2 separate regions of the Homo sapiens genome follow, and region 2 is linked to region 1. The links are contacts of gene promoters, found by promoter capture Hi-C in blood cells and fetal thymus (Javierre and others, 2016). All regions are on one chromosome and are shown on one strand. The core of a region is centred on a gene start or on the middle of the fragment in contact, and the rest is flanking DNA. Distances in the headings are between cores, read along the strand shown.

The links. Contacts are between HindIII fragments. The CHiCAGO score rates a contact against its expected background, and 5 or more counts as called.
Region 2: a contact is called between a fragment that was not itself captured here and the fragment with the promoter of GSN-AS1 in region 1, in 1 of 17 cell types (total B cells). The highest score is 5.2, in total B cells.

What each region holds. Positions count from the first base shown.
Region 1 is chr9:121,283,741-121,287,973 of GRCh38, reverse strand. GSN-AS1 (GSN antisense RNA 1) reads left to right here and starts at 2,444. Exons shown (of 1, transcript NR_103560.1): 1 at 2,444-4,233. All of the region lies in intron 2 of GSN (gelsolin), which reads right to left. RefSeq lists a silencer at 269-563 and enhancers at 703-1,902, 2,717-3,217. The HindIII fragment of the contact is 6,763 bases long and covers 823-4,233 here.
Region 2 is chr9:120,763,141-120,767,373 of GRCh38, reverse strand. It overlaps FBXW2 (F-box and WD repeat domain containing 2), which reads left to right. Exons shown (of 8, transcript NM_012164.4): 8 at 2,527-4,233. The coding sequence ends at 2,815. Among named protein-coding and RNA genes, the nearest start is that of FBXW2, 28 kb to the left of the region's middle. The HindIII fragment of the contact is 1,627 bases long and covers 1,067-2,693 here.

The DNA of each region.
Region 1 (4,233 bases), core at 1,195-3,694:
GCCTGGGTGACAAAAAATACAACAATAAAACAACAAAGAGACAGAAAGCAGATGCGTGGTCAGCTATGGGGTGTGCATAGAGATGGACGTAAGCAAGCATGAGGGATCCTTTTGGGGATGATGAAAATCTTCTCAACTGGATTGTGATGATGGTTGCATAACTCTGTAAATGTACTAAACATTATTGAATTGAGTGAATTATGTGTATGTAAATTATATGTAAATTTACTCCAATAAATCATGTAAATTATATTTCAATAAAGCTGTTTTTAAAAAAAAAAGAAAAAAAAAGCCCACACGCTTCCTGTGTACTATTCTGCCAAAGCATTCTGCAAGAGAAGGGCGCTCCCTGTGGGTCAGTGAAGTTCAATCAGAGGCCGAGCTGCTCTGAGGCCCAGCTGGGAGCCAGTTTGAGCCGAGCAGTTCCCTAACACCTCTGTGGACCAGGTGTGCAGCAGGATCACCCAAGGAGCTCAGGAAACAATAGATTCCCAGGCCCCACCCCTAGCCTCTGAGTCTGTAGGTCTAGGGTGGGGCCCGGGAACCTCTGATTCTGAGGCTCAGCCAGGACTGGGCCCACATCTTCCTTTCACATTTGGGGAAACTGAGGCTAGGCAGGAGAGGGGCCTGGTCAGACCTAGTTGATCAAACAGTGGGAGAGCCAGGGCTAGAATTAGAGCCCTTTCCTCTTCTCGTCTCTCCATTCCCTCCGCCTCCCTCCCACTCCTCCCCCTGTCCTCAGCCTCCCGGTGACTCAGGGCTGAGTCACCCAGAGGCCCCACAGAGGAAACTTCTTAGGAAAAACAATCGCCAAACAAAGCTTTCCCTGATCTGGGGAAGAGAATAGGCCCAGGGGGCCAAGAGAGGGAGGGGAGGGAGAACACAGGGTGGAGTCGGAGGCTCCAAGACTTGGAGTCTCAGCCACTCCCTTGTGTGGGGCCCTAGATAGGGACGTCCCCGGAATGAACGTCCCCATCTGCAAATAACACCTCCTATGCTCATAGAAGCCCATTGTGATGATAAGTACTTTATAAGCATTGTCTTGTTGAATCCTCCCCAAAACCCATGGCTGGCATTGTCTCCTTTTATAGACGGAGGAACAAAAGCTCAGAGAGGTTCAGCCCAAGGTTACACCATTAGGAATTCAGGGCTGTCTGACTCTGAAGTCCGAAGTCTGACTCTCACTTCTACACACCTTTAAAAAATACCTACTGTACACAGTGGCATGAAGATCAGCTCTCATCAGACAGGTAAGGAGAATGATGGCCACAGTGGCTGTTCAATCACAAATTGTCTCCTTTCTTTCTCTGACTTCCCGGCCCAGAGGGCACACAAACAGGAACACCAATAGTCATTCAAGCAGTTGTGGGCCCTGGGAGCACAAAGGAGGGAGCACCCATGGCCCAACAGAGCCACGGAGGAGGGGCATTGGGGCAGAGCCTTGGAGGATAAATGGAGTTTCCCTTTTGGGAAGGTGGGAACAACAGACGCAAAGGCTTGGGGGTGTGGCCTGCACAAGGAAGCGTAAACAGTTTGGAGAAGCATGGCTGGGGTTGAGACAGTGGATACCTCGGGGAGAAGGGGTCTGACTGCTACGGAGTCCTGGCCTGACCGGACACACTGAGGATTTTTAAGCAGGGAGAGAATAGAATTGGAACTGGTTTCATCTCTGCAGGGGGCCTGGCTGGTGTTGAACTAGGAGTCAGGAGCGGGACTTTCCCTCGGGTCTCCCTGGCGTCCCTCCTCTGAGCTGGCTTCGGGGACCACCCCAGATCCCGTGCTACTCACCCATGGGTCAGAATTGCCCCTGAGGGCTTCTTCCTCGGCCATCGCGAGGCTGGGGGGAGCTATGTGGGCCTCTCCTGACACAGGCCAACCTAATCATCTCAGCCTATAAATAGGACTCAGGATTAGTCTGGAAATAGCTGTGCCAAGCCAACTCCGCAGGCATCACAGGCACACACAGTTCCGGAAATGGTTCTTCTCCTCAACACAATTAAAACCCAACACTTCCTCAGGAAACTATTGTTCACACTCCACTTTGCTTCCTTAAGCACAAGGCCGTCAATTTTGGGGGGAAGAACCTGCCTGCCTACTGCTGATTAGTGGGGGTATGCTTTGTGGAGAGGAGGCCCTTTTCCTGCTTCTCCCTCTCTGAGGACCTGAAGGAGTCACTACCATTCTCTGGGCCCCAGTTTCCCCAAAGGTAAATTAGGGAGGTGGGACATGATGCCATTTTTAACTTACCAGGATTTCAAAAATTAGAATTGTAATAAACATGTGAGCAGGGAGAAATGAACAGGTTCAGGGCCTGCCACTGAGGAGCTGAGTGGCCTTGGATGAGCCACTGTTCCTCTCTGGGCCCCAGATTCCTCAGCTGTAAAATAAAGGTGCTGGGGGATGATGTCCAAGATTAATAATTTTTTTTTAATTTCATTTTTTTGTTTAGTATTTTTGAGAACCCAGCCACCTGGCCATGCTGTACCAGCCTTGTGCTGAGTGCTGGGGATAAAGGAACAAATAAAACCCAGTCCAGGCTTCTGTGTGCCCAGCCCTGTGCCGGGTCCCAGTGGGTAACAGCATGTCCAATCCCCTCAGTGTCCCACTAGAGGCTTCCTTTGGGGCTGCTGGGGACATCTTGTTTCTAGTTGAGAATTCAGATTTATGTCCAAAGACAAGAACTCCCTGAGGGGCAGATTACAACATGGACTGGGCCATTACAATCAACAAGGACACAAAGCTAACACAGCCATCGTTATACACCAGACATGTGCTAAGGACTTGATTTCCCCATTGTTTAATCATCACCAACTCCATTATCACCCCCATTTCACAGATGTGGAAACTGAGGCTGAGAAGAGTAAGGGACTTGTCCAAGGGCACAGAGCAAGTCAGGGCTACGGTGATGTTTCAGGCCCAGACCTGTTTGCCTCTGGAGCCCAGGGTTTAACACACCCCAGTGCTGCTGTGAAAGGGCTCTGGACAGCTCAGGCTGGCCGGCCAATTCGGGGATAACCGAACAGAGGTATGGAACAGAAAGGGGCGTTGAGGATGTTGCTGTGTGTGTGCGGTGGGGGGAGTGACAAGGCTTCAGCAATGGTACTCATTCTCTCCAACCAGCTCCCAGTGCTGCTGTCCTCTGATCCACCCTCCGCTCTGCCTGCCATGGACTAATTGTTCTGAAATCCCATGGATCAAGTCACTCCTCAGCTGAGGACCTGTCCATGGCTCCCTGGTACCCAGAGGATAGAAACCCAGCATTCAAAACCTCTCTAACCAGCTCCCCACCTCAACCCTCACACTCCTGCTCACTAGCCCCCAGGCGCAGTGGGCTCTTCCAGCGGCCAAGCCTGTGCCTACGGTGCCTTCTTGCCTGGAATGCCCAACTCCCCCTTCTCAGCCTTCTTTGACTCTCAAGTAAGGAAAAGCACTCTTTGTCTCCCTGAGCCCCTTGGCACTTATCACAGAGCACTCTGGGCGTTAACTTCCACTGTCTCCGTCTTGGATTAGAGTGGATCTCAGAGGGCCCGGTGGTGTCTGCTTCACCTCCCTCTCCACTGCAGCAGCTTAGCAAGGACTGGCCGGGTAAACTAAAAAATGCAAAGAGCTGAGAGAATCCTGGGAAAGTGCACATTTCCCAGGACTGCCCAATGACAAGCCCCGTACCAAGGCACAGCATCAGGATACCCTGATGTGGAAGAACCAAAAATTGCACCCTCATGGCTTATCAGGATGGTCCTTGTGTCTGTCCCTTTCAAGGGTTCTGATAATGAAATCTGGGCAAGTCACCCTCCTGCTTTAAAACTTCCAATGGTTCCCAGAGGTCTAGCATAAAATCCAAACTCAAGGGCCCACATAACCTAGGTGCTGCCTGGCCCCCAGGCCCTCCTCTTGCCACGCCCCCCTCCCTGGCCAGCCTCCCTCACTTCTTTCAGTTCCTCAAGGACTCCCCCTCACTAAAGCCTTACCCAGGTCGCCTCTCTGCCTAGGGGGCTCCTCCATTCCCTGCTCACTCAGCCACCTCCCTCTCCCTCTTCAGGTCTCACTTTTTAGGGGAGGCTTCCCTGATCTGTCCAGATAAGACCTCACCACTCCCACCCAATCCCAAACGCTCCCATAACCTGATCGTTTCCTTCACAGCAAGAATTAATCTTCAGTGTAAATAATGATCTACTGAAGACCTATGAGGAATGGGAAAGTCTTGTTTTTTGCTGATTCTTCAACACCCAGCTC
Region 2 (4,233 bases), core at 631-3,130, 520 kb after region 1:
ATCTAATCTAAATGTCTACCTCTTTTAGCAGAAGTTTCTTCCATTTTCAGTCTGGGAAGGTGAGCTTACTCTCTGCTTTTCAAGCAGGGGCCAGCACCTGTTAACTATTTTCTTAGTTTCATAGAAGTGATGTCTTGTTGATATTCTTAGTATCATAGATTTTTTTTTCAGATATTAATTATAAGAGAAACACATGCCCATGAGAGAGAATTTGTAAAATTTAGACAGGCTTTCCGTATTCTATCTATATTGCCCAGTTGCATTTCTTCTTCAAGAAAGAGAAAAAATATTCTTCCAGGTCCAGCTATAAAAGACAGAAAGATTTGCTCACTCCTTGATACTCCTGTTATATCCATTGGAGTGTTTGTGCTGAGCATGTTCTCACATACTCTGGCAGTTATATGCTATGCCCTCCCCTTCTAAGGGGCAAAGACTATCTTGCTTATCTCTCTTCAGGGGCCCAGCCAGCACTCAGCACCTATGATACTCAGAAAACATTTGCTAGGCCTGCATTATGTTAGCTGTATGACTCATGGCAAGATGTTTTAGTCTTGTTTACTGATATAGTGGAGAGAATACCTCTACCTAACTGCATTATGAGGATTGAGATAACACGCTGGGTGCAGTGGCTCACGCCTGTAATCCCAGCACTTTGGGAGGCTGAGGCGGGTGGAACACAAGGTTGAGATCGAGACCATCTCGCCAACATGGTAAAACCTCATCTCTACTAAAAATACAAAAATTAGCTGGGCGTGGTGGCGGGCATCTGTAATCCCAGCTACTCGGGAGGCTGAGGCACGAGAATCGCTTGAATCCGGGAGGTGGAAGTTGCAGTGAGCCGAGATCACGCCACTGCACTCCAGCCTGGTGACAGAGCGAGACTCCATCTCAATAAATAAATAAATAAAAATAATTAAAAAAGATAACATGTTAATTATGAAGTTCGGTGCCTTGCACATGTAAATGCTTGATAAATATTGAATGTCCCCCATCCTTCCTGATATGAGACTGAAATTGGCTCCTTTGTAACTCTTTGCCTCTGATCCTAGTTCTGTCTTCTAAAGCTTATAATGTCTGGGCTGTCTCTTACACATCTTTCACTATTCAGAAGTGATCCTCATATACAGTTACCCTATGCCTGCCAACTCTTTCCTTCCCCATCTCAGCTGATAGCCTTCAGCTGTTCTTCCTTGTCCTGGTCTCCAGGTCCTCCCATTCTGGTTGCTCTCTTGAACCTATACTAGTTTGGTGGTGTCCTTAAAACCTAGGCTAAACTCTCCTCCCACAGGAGCCCCACCATATGTCACAGAGCAGTATTTGTCTACTGCTTGTCTGGTAGCTCAGCTCTTAGTTCCTCCAAAGAGGACATCAGCTTTTCTTGTTAATCTTTTGCTTCACTAAGGGCGCAGACAACAGAAGCTAAGTTGTTTTTTGTTTTCCTTTGTGCTGCTGTTTAGCTAGGTGTCTCCTAGCCTTTGTCATTGATGTCTTGGAAACTGCCTCTGAGAAAGTTAGGGCTGTCCTCCCAACTCCCTACTTTTCTCTGCTTCCCCTAGTTGTTTCTTCCCTAGTTTTTTTCATAATAACTTTTTATGAATCTATTATTAATAAATGTTTCTAAGTTATTTGGGAAACTTTAAATATTTTCAGCCTTTACTGTTTTTAGAGAGAAACCCATTTGTTTGCTGCCTGCTGAGTAGAGTAGCACTTTAGTCACTTGGCTTTCAGGTTTCTTCTGGGCTTCAGGGTGTTCCAGTATTCTAGGAGTTGATGAATACATCTTTTTACCTAGTGGTAAGAGTTAACTCTTGCCTTCTAGTTCTCACTGGTAACTGACAAATTGTGAATCCTTAGCCAAAGCATTTACTCTGCCTGAGCTTTGGTTTTCACAGCTTAAAAATAGATTGTTTAGTTAAATGTTATCTGTAAGATCCTTTCTAGCCTGGATAGATGTTTTGTACTTTTATAAACTTTCATCAGGCCGGGTGCGGTGGCTCACGCCTGTAATCCCAGCACTTTGGGAGGCCGAGGTGGGCAGATCATCTGAGGTCAGTAGTTCGAGACCAGCCTGGCCAACATGGTGAAACCTCGTCTCTACTAAAAATACAAAAATTAGCCAGGTGCAGTGGCAGCCGTCTGTAGTCCCAGCTACTTGTGAGGCTGAAGCAGGAGAATCACTTGAACCTGGGAGGTGGAGGATGCAGTGAGCCGAGATCACGCCCCTGTACTCCAGTGTGGGCAACACAGTGAGACCCTGTCTCAAAAAAAAAAAAAAAAACTTTGATCAAACACCACCTTTCCCTTCCATGCCAATATTATATAATGACTGAACGCACCTCTCCCGCTCCCGGCTTTTTTATAAGTGGGCTGAGCTTTTCTCCTTATATTTTACTTTTTATCAAAAACATTTAACTCTAAATTTGCTTGAATTTAATATTGGTTTTAAATATCTCCAGAAAAGATTACAGTAGCATAAACAGAAGCAAGGTTGCCTTCTTTCACAGTCCCTAACTCTCATCCTTGTAGGGTCATCAAGACTCCTGAGATAGCAAACTTGGCCTTGCTTGGCTTTGGAGATATCTTTGCCCTGCTGTTTGACAACCGCTACCTGTACATCATGGACTTGCGGACAGAGAGCCTGATTAGTCGCTGGCCTCTGCCAGAGTACAGGAAATCAAAGAGAGGCTCAAGCTTCCTGGCAGGCGAAGCATCCTGGCTGAATGGACTGGATGGGCACAATGACACGGGCTTGGTCTTTGCCACCAGCATGCCTGACCACAGTATTCACCTGGTGTTGTGGAAGGAGCACGGCTGACACCATGAGCCACCACCGCTGACTGACTTTGGGTGCCGGGGCTGCGGGTTTTGGGTGCAACCTCTGCGGCAGCCGACTGCATGAACCAAAGTTCTCACCTAATGGTATCATCACGCAGTGCACAATCATTTATCTATGTTTTGCCAGGGGCCAGGGCTCGGGGTGGGGGAGGGCTTGTTTTATTGACATACAACGCAGCATGCTAATGGGGTACACCATTGACTTCATTTGTACTTAGTTATGTTGGTCAGTGTTAGAGGATGCATTTTGGGTTCATCTTTCTTGAGTGGAGTATTGGTTTTAAGTAAAGAAAGTTAAATGATCCATTAATCTGCTAATTGGTTGCCTATGAAATCACATTGTCTGTTATTAAAGCTTTTTACCATAGCCTTTTTTTCTTTTGAAGTTGAAGCAAAGGTGCTATGATGTTGTTACAGCAACTTTCCTCACACGGGGTTTAGCTCTTATAAGAGCCAGTGTTAAAACTTCCACCAAATACCAGTTTATAAACTTCCACCAAATACCAGTGCTAAGGAAAGTCTGTCTTCCAGTTCAAATCCAATTCTGTAAATTGAATGTTAGCAACTCATTCTAAACCTTATATCTTGGCAGAGTCAAGGTTGGCCATGTTTAAGATGTGAGCGAGTTCTGTAGTTTTTGTTGCCATGTCGGGGAAGCTAGTCCCCGGCAGCCTGGATGACTGCACAGCGGTGCCCTGGTATAGCAGAAAAGAGCAGTGAGCTGGAAGGTTAGAGACCGGGCCTCTTACCCTGGAACTCTGCACCCTCTCTGGGTCCCAGCTTCCTTGTCTGTACAGCCAGGTATGAAGCTCAGTGATTTCTAAGATTCTTTCTGGTCCTTCACCTACTGAAATGTGTAAAAGTTGATCATGTATTTTTGTCTGATCCCTGATTCATGGTTTCTTTCAGGTCGGATAATATTTAAATGAAATGACTGTTACAGAGTTTTCTATAAGAACATCAATTATATGAAAAGGATGAATAAAAGGGAAATGTAGAAAATATAGCTGATTCCACTTAGACAGTTTAAGTAATTGGTTGAAGAAATGCTGATAGAAGCCATGGTTTAAATAGGGACACAGTATGCTATACTAGAAGGATACCTGAACCCAACCTAACTTCCTCCTTTGCCTCTAACTTAATCTGCAGCCTCAGGCAAGTTAACTTTCTCTTCTAAGACCATCATTTTCTTCATCTTTTAAGTGAGGGAATTGTCCTAGATGAGGGCTCACAAACCCAAATGCCTAAGGGAGCCGTGCAGGTAACATAAATGAGTAAAACATTCTGGGGAGGATTGTGCTGTCCCCTGGAAAGTTGATCTAATAGGGCAGTTATTCAGCTCTGTTTTGTCATTAGGAGAAGCAAGCCCAGGGTTGGCAGGTCTTCACATTGTTTCAG